2 separate regions of the Homo sapiens genome follow, and region 1 is linked to region 2. The links are contacts of gene promoters, found by promoter capture Hi-C in blood cells and fetal thymus (Javierre and others, 2016). All regions are on one chromosome and are shown on one strand. The core of a region is centred on a gene start or on the middle of the fragment in contact, and the rest is flanking DNA. Distances in the headings are between cores, read along the strand shown.

Region 1 (4,147 bases), core at 1,639-4,138, 410 kb after region 2:
ATATATATATATATATATAGACATGGCAGCCTGACACCACTGGAAGGGCTGGAACATGGAGTCCTGAGCTGGAACCCCCTCTCTGCTCCTTCTTGGTTTTAAGGCTCTAAAAAGTTAAATAGTTTTGTTTTGTTTGTTTGCTTGTTTTTTTTGAGACGGAGTCTCGCTCTGTCACCAGGCTGGAGTGCAGTGGCCCGATCTCAGCTCACTGCAAGCTCCACCTCCCGGGTTCACACCATTCTCCTGCCTCAGCCTCCCGAGTAGCTGGGAAGGCAGGTGCCCGCCACCACACCTGGCTAATTTTTTGTATTTTTAGTAGAGACAGGGTTTCACCATGTTAGCCAGGATGGTCTCGATCTCCTGACCTCGTGATCCGCCACCTTGGCCTCCCAAAGTGCTGGGATTACAGGCGTGAGCCACCACGCCGGGCCAAAAGTTAGATAATTTTAAAGCTGTTTTGAGCCTATTTTAAATTTGGGATTGGATATACATTTCCATGACCCAAAGTCTAAATTTATTTATTTATTTATTTACTTATTTATTTGAGACGGAGTCTTGCTCTGTCACCCAGACTGGGGTGCAATGGCACGATCTCGGCTCACTACAACCTCCGCCTCCCGGGTTCAAGCGATTCTCCTGCCTCAGCCTCCTGAGTAGCTGGGACTACAGGTGCGTGTCACCACGCCTGGCTAATTTTTTCTATTTTTAGTAGAGACAGGATTTCACCGTGTTAGCCAGGATGGTCTCGATCTCCTGACCTCATGATCTGCCCACTCGGTCTCCCAAAGTACTGGGATTACAGGTGTGAGCCACTGTACCCAGCCTAAATTTATTTTTTAAAAGTACACAGAAAAGTCTCATTCCCATACCTCCCTCCAACCCATCCCCCAAACAAGTAATCAATAAAGGCATCTTGTTTAGCCTTCTGGTAAAGAGATGGGGTGTGGGAGGATCTTGCTATGTTGCTCCAGTCTGGCCTCGATCTCCTGGGCTCAAGTGATCCTCCCACCTCAGCCTCCTGAACAGTAAGGACTACAGGCCCACTATGCAACACTAAGCTTAATTTTTTTTACTTTAAGGAAATAGAGTATTACAAACAAATGCAAATATAAAATAGTCTATCATGCACTATTTGGCACCTTGTTCTTTCATTGAACAATATATGCTTGAAGCCCTTATCAGAACACAGTATTTAATTGTGTAAATCATTTATCTATAATTATTAAATTATGCAGATTAACAAATCCCTTCTCATTATATTTATTCAGTATTTTGCTATAACATACAATGCCACAAGAAATAAGCTTGTATTTTTATGTCACTTTATACATATAAAGGTCAGGTAGAGGCTCAGAACTGGGACTACTAAGTAAATCGCTAACTGCTGTCTTTGATATTGCCCAATTCCCTTCTATAGAGGATGCACAAGCATGTTTATTTTCTCACAGCCCGACCAACATAATGTGTGGTCAAACTTCTGGATTTTGGTCATCTAGTAGAGTACTGCTGTTTGGTGTTAATGTGCATTTCTCAGGACTGTTGCCTGTCCATTCATGTCCTTTGCTAGTTTGGGGACAGAAAATTTAGTGATCTTTCTATAAATATGTTATAAATTAGGAAGACTGGGCCTTTTGTCTATAAGATGAACTACAGAATATTTTTATCTGGTTTGTCATTTCTTCTGACTTACCTAATAGTGTTTTGTTTTGCTTTTGCTATGAAGTGTTTTATTTTTATATAGTTGGAATTTATCAATCTTTCTTTTTGGCTTCTGTACTTTGAGTCATAGTTATGGCTTCATTTTTTTACATTAAGTTTTTCAACCATTTAGATTCTAGCCAAGTGTACATTTGGCAGGCAGTATGAACCCAAACTTGTCTTTTCCCAAATGACTATCAATTATCCCAAAAACACCATTTATTAGGTCCCAACTTTAGGCTAGGCTCAGTGGCTCATGCCTGTGATTACAGCACTTCAGAAGGCCAAGGCGGGAGGACCGCTTGAGCCTAGGAGTTTGAGACCAGCCTGGGCAACATAGGGAGACCCTGTCTCTACCTCTACCAAACACAAACAAAATTAGCCAGGCGTGGTGGCGCATGGTTGGAGTCCCAGCTACTGGGAGGCTGACATAGAGAAGATCTCTTGAACCCAGGATATTGAGGCTATGGTAAGCCGTGATCATGCCACTGTACCCCAGCCTGGGTGACAGAGTGAGACCCTATCTCAAAAAATGAATACAAATAAAAATTTAAAAAGTCCCAACTTTACTCACTGAACTGAGAAGCCACCACTATCATACACTGAATTTCCACATGTAATTATGTCATTTCTGGACTTCTGAATCTGCCCATTAGACTCTGCCTATTCATCAGCAATACTACACTTCTAATTATAGAGGCTTAACAGTATGCTTCAGTATCTGGTAGGGCTAACATGTCTCACTGCTTTCTTTTTTTTTCTTTTTTTTTTTGAGATGGAGTCTTGCTGTGACGCCAGGCTGGAGTGCAGTGGCACGATCTCGGCTCACTGCAACCTCCGCCTCCTGGGTTCAAGTGATTCCCCTGCCTCAGCCTCCCGAGTAGCTGGGACTACAGGCACGCGCCACCACCCCCGGCTAATTTTTTGTATTTTAGTAGAGATGGGGTTTCACCATGCTGGCCAGGATGATCTCGATCTCCTGACCTTGTGATCTGCCCGCCTCGGCCTCCCAAAGTGCTGGGATTACAGGCATGAGGCATTGCGCCCGGCCTCTCATTGCTCTTTTTAAAGTTTTCCTGGTTATGCCTGCTTCTTCCTTTTTCCATTTGGACTTGTCTAAGTCAAGGAAACATTGTATACATATTCAGGTACATTAAATATAAAGAGAGAACAGCTTTATAATACTGATTTGCAGTACTTGGTGTGTCTTTTTCGTTTGATCAACTTGTTCTTTTCCTCCTTCAGGAGTATCTTTAAGTTTTCCTTGTATAGGTTTTGCACAATTTTGTTAAATGTACTCCTTGGTACTTAATCATTTTCTTGTTATGGTAAATTGCCCCCTTTCCTCTACTATGCTTTCTAATTGACTGTGTTTACATGAAAGCTATTAATTTCAGTACATTACTTTTACATCCTGCTATCTTAGTGAATTTGTATTGTCTATAGTAGTTTTTTAGTTGATTATCTTGGGTTTGTAGTTATATGATCTCTTCCTTTGCAATTTCATATACTTCTCTTTTCTTTTTTTCTTTTTTTTTTTGAGATGGAGTCTCACTATGTGGCCCAGGCTGTAGTGCAGTGGCGCAGTCTCAGCTCACTGCAACCTCCGCCTCCCAGGTTCAAGTGCCTCTCCCGTCTCAGCCTCCCGAGTAGCTGGGATTACAGGCACCCACACCATGCCTGGCTAATTTTTTGTATTTTTAGTAGAGACAGGGTTTCACCATGTTGGCCAGGCTGGTCTCGAACTCCTGGCCTCAGGTAATCCACCCACCTCAGCCTCCCAAAGTGCTGGGATTACAGGTGTCAGGCAACATGCCTGGCCATACTTCTATTTCTTTATTGACCTTTTCCCATACTTTTTTTTTCATATTCTGAATTACTCCTTTTTTTAAATTGAGATGGGATCCTGCTATGTTGCCCAGGCTGGTCTCAAACTCCTGGACTCAAGCAATCCTCCTGCCTCAGCCTCCCAAGTGGCTAGGACTACAGTCACACGCCACTGCACCTACCTTCAGAATTACTCTTTTAAAGATGTGCCTCCTATATACAACTTTAAGGTGGTTTTGTTTTATGATTTAATCTGATTATGCTGTCCTCAAACAGGACATTTACATTTACTGACATGACAGCTATGTTCCATATCAATTCTGTCATACTGTTTTAGGTTACGCTTATACATTCTAAATGTCTTTCACTGTGTAGCCTCTCTTTTTTTTTTTTTTGGTGACACAAGGTCTCATTGTCGCCCAAACTAGAGTGCAGTGGCACAATCATGGCTCTCTACAGCCTCAACCTCCTGGGCTCAAGTGATCTTCCACCTAGGCTAGAACCAAGTAACTGCAACCACAGGCATGCACCATCACCCCTGGCTAATTTTTAATTTTTTTTATAGAGATGAGGTCTACGTTGCCTAGGCTGGTCTCAAACTCCTGGGCTTAAGCAATCCTTC
Region 2 (3,885 bases), core at 434-2,933:
TCCTTGAAACTTCACACCTACTGTGAAGTGGTATTTTTAGGTCCTTTATAGTTCTTGAACGTCAAGCAATGAAGGCTCAGAGAAATGAAGCTGTGTGCTCAGGATCACACGACAGGCAAGAGATCACCTCATTCTGAAGCCCTGTTCATTCTCCTTCACGGTGCTGCTGAAGCAGGATATTGCCCTGACCTTTCACAGGACTCACAACAGGGGTGCCCCGTTTACTCAGCCCGCTGCTCTCAACTCCTCATGGGAGGGAGTACGCAAGTGAACAAGGCGGGAACTGGAGTGCACAAGCGCTGGAACAAGCCAGCCGTTTTTCAGCACCAGTGGGATCACACTCCACTCACTCAAGATTCACCGCGTTCCACCCCTCATAGGAGGGAGCGTGCAGGTGAGTGGGTGCAGGAGCCAGAGCGTGCGCTTTTGGACACCGGCAGGAGCGAACTCCGTGCAGGCCCCGGGGCAGTGTCCAGGCAGAGTGCCTGAGGCTCCTGAAGCCCCAGAGGGCATGTTACAGTGTTCTTTTGGCTCTGTCGTCCGTGGACAGCTTAAGTGTTAACAGCTCCGTGGGCCCGCGGTTGCCCTCCACCAGCAAGGGCAGAGGGCCAGCGTGACAGCTTTTGTATCCGCACTCGTGGCTCCCGAGCTCTTGTCCAGCGTCCAAGAAAAATAAAGCTGCACGAACAAATTAAAGGACAAATGCCTGGGATTTTATTGCTGATCAAAGTGGATTTCAGAGGGAAGGTGAGCTGAAAAGAGGGGGGTGGGACAGGCCGGTATGTAGTCTTCCCTTGAAGTCCAGCTATCTCCAGCCAGATTCGTCTCAGAAGTTACGCCTTAAGCTGTCCCTCTGAAGACAAGCTGCTTCTCTCTGACATCCAGCCATGGTCGTCCCCTCATCCAGCTGCTTCTCCTCTCTGCCAGATGAGTCTGGGGTCTTTCTAGGCACAGGATGAGGCAGGGCAGAGCCATGGGTGGCTTAGGAAAAGGCAACATTCAACTGGAAAAACATGGATAGAAGTTCTCACTTTGGGCCATGGTTTCAGGCTTTTTGGCTTGAGGGTGGGGTTTCACCAGGGACCCGCTCTTTTCTACCTAGCATTTATCTGCCTCCTGTCCCTATGCACTGCCTTTGTGGCAGAAAAAGGAGAGTGAGAGTTGGTTCCTCTCTTTCTCTGAAATTCTGAGCTAACATTTGGGAGCCGTCTACAGTATTCAGGTATGAATTTTCTCTCTGGGGGAGCGCATTCGTTTTCCTAGAGCAGTGTGCTTTTAATTGCTCCTTTAATATCTTTCTCTTTTGTGCCTTTTTAGCGCGAAAAGTGTATGGGAAGACTAGGTGCTCGTTAGCGGCTCGGTTAGAACTACATTGCCCACAATGCCCCAGGGAACATTTGTAGCTCTAGAACTACATGACCCAAAATGCCGAGTGGTGGCAAGAGGAGGATTAGCTTCCACTCCGATTTCAAAGATCCAGTTTACCCACTCTACAGCCCAGATATAGTCACTTATTTCCCCTTTCCAGCCAGAGACTTCCGTTCCCTGCTGGAACTTCCGATCCCATTCTTCTCTCGGTGGGAATGCTTGTGGGGGGAAAAAGAAACGCAATAGATAAAGCGGGGCGCATGCGCTCCCGGCACAGGCTTCGATTGTGAGGAAGGCCGGCTAGTCTCCGAGCTCATCCCGCCTTGCGCATGCGGAGAAGGTAAACCAGCGCCCCGAGTTGAGGCGCGGGTTTGGTGGCGCGTTTCAGCGAAGTCGCACGTGAAGGATAGCAGTGGCCTGAGAAAGGTGAGAGCGGGCCGAGGTCGGAATGTGGGGCAGCGCACGGGAAGGGGAGACAGCAGCCGCTGCAGGCGGCACCAGGCGGAGCCGCGAGGCCTGGAGAGTCCGAGTGGGGAGGGGTCCGCGCGCCCAGCGTGCGAAACAAACCGGGGACCCGGATCCCCGTTGCTATGCAACCGGGGGCGTCGTTTCCAGGCAACCCGGGAGGCGCACGTTTCCGGGGAGAAGAGGGTTGCGGCGAGGTTCCGAGGTCCGGCAGAGGTGGAGCGGCTCCCGGGCGTGGGGACCAGGCCAGCGCCAAGCCCGAGCCCCCGAACCCCGACCCACGGCCCAGCCTCCTGCAGCCTCGGCTCGAGCCCTTCGGGGGGCCCCAAACTCATGGGTCGCGCCACGTTCCTTGCCAGCGACGCTACCCCTCAGCGCTTGGCAGGGGACGCGCCGTTCGAAATAGCACATGCCACTGACACCCTGTCTCCGGGAGGCTGCGCCCCGGTTAGGGCGCGGAGCGGCAGGGAAGCTGCCCCTTTGCCGTCGCCCTGCCCCCAAACAGTTGCTGGGCAGCAGCTGTCAGGGGTTTAGTGGGAGCTGCCCCCAACCTGCCAGGGCGCTGACTTCATTCTCTGCAGTGGCGGCTTCGCCTTGTTTAGGACCTTCCTTTAGACTCAGCTGTGCTTCTCGTGTGGCTGCTGTATATTTGGATCTACTATTAAAATAACCTCCCTCCTCACCTCTCCATGGCTTTCTCGTTCGACCCTCACGGTTTCTTGGCAGGTTGCTAATATTCATTTAATAAACATTTATTAGTCATCTTTCCTACTAGGCGCTGGGGATTCCAACATGTCAAGTCTAACCGGGAGTCGCTCGGTCTACTGGGGAAGGCAGGTTGATAAACTGCTAAATTATGCTACGATATATAGTCAGTGGTAATGTGTGTGCTGCAACATTTCTATAGATGTTTAGTTTACAAAGCGCTTGCTGCAGAAATATCTTAACTCCTTACAGCAACTCTTCACCTGGGTTCACTCCCTTTTACGTTTGAGGAGACTGCAACTCAGGCAGGTTAAGTAACAGGCGTAAGGTAGTAGCTTCTAGTCCGTGGCACACTTGAGCCTGGGACGGAAGTCAGGGGTCCTTTGTACACTGCTGCACTTTTGAAGCTTTGCTTAGACTTTTCCCTGAGCTGCTGGCTATGCATCCGAAATTCCTGAGGAGCTTTGCAAAACAAAGGGCTGAGTCCCTCTCTGGAAGAGTCTGAGTGAGTAGCCCTGGGTGGGGCAGACGTCCTTGTTTAACAGGCTGCACAGGCAGTTCCGATGGGCAGCCAAAGTTGAGAACCGCCGCTCCTTAGGGGCAGCTATGAGCAGCGGCGGGACAGTCAGAGCCGGTAGAGGGCACTTTTTGCCGCCCCTCCTGCCACCTGGTGATTCATAGCATGAAATGAAACTAACAAAAGGAAAGAGAAGAGGAGGAAGGAGCCTTGATTGGGAGGGGGGGGCGCGAAATGCCCCATCCTACCCTTGTAGCAAACCACAGCTAAACATAAGCAGTGGCGCCTTCTCACTAACACAATAAGTAAAGCTGTTTCCCCAGCCAGGCTGGGCTCTCCAGACCCACCTGAGCCATATTGCAGCTGCCGAACAGAAGTGGCAGGTTTTGTCTCCCACCTTTTGCTGTCCTCTCATACCTCTTGGTACAAAACCATGGCCTGTAAGCCCAGAAGGCAGATGGTCTCCTGGTATGTGTTCCCTCGGAGGAGTCTGGATGTCCTTCCACTTTGAGCTTGTTGGTGAACTTCAGCTCCATGAGGGCAGGGACTATGTCCACTATCAAGGCAGCATGCGGGTATGGGACAAGCAAAAAGGCAAGATTGAGATCCTGGGTACTGGAGTCAAGTCCCAGCTCTGCTGTGTGATCTTGGATAAGTCACTCAACCTCTCTAAGCCATACTTTTCTGAGTAAGATGAAGAGGGTAATAATACCTTAAAAGATTGTTGTTAGAGTTAAATGAAGTGATGAAACAATAAGCACTCTGTGAATTATAAAGCACCACACAAAAATTATTATAACATATGTATATGTATAGATATGTATAACATT

Evidence for each region. The method cuts DNA at HindIII sites, captures the fragments that hold promoters and counts their contacts. A CHiCAGO score of 5 or more calls a contact.
Region 1: a fragment that was not itself captured here is called in contact with the fragment with the promoter of TMEM109 in region 2 in 1 of 17 cell types (activated CD4 T cells); the score reaches 5.3 in activated CD4 T cells.

The regions. Positions count from the first base shown.
Region 1 is chr11:61,316,981-61,321,127 of GRCh38, forward strand. All of the region lies in intron 10 of DDB1 (damage specific DNA binding protein 1), which reads right to left. Among named protein-coding and RNA genes, the nearest start is that of DDB1, 14 kb to the right of the region's middle. The HindIII fragment of the contact is 3,172 bases long and covers 1,303-4,147 here.
Region 2 is chr11:60,912,475-60,916,359 of GRCh38, forward strand. TMEM109 (transmembrane protein 109) reads left to right here and starts at 1,684. Exons shown (of 4, transcript NM_024092.3): 1 at 1,684-1,794. It overlaps TMEM109-DT (TMEM109 divergent transcript), which reads right to left and starts at 1,589. Exons shown (of 2, transcript NR_186356.1): 1 at 1,486-1,589; 2 at 692-1,003. RefSeq lists enhancers at 1-921, 1,920-2,918, 2,313-2,482, 3,543-3,592 and a silencer at 1,973-2,132. The HindIII fragment of the contact is 3,992 bases long and covers 1-2,943 here.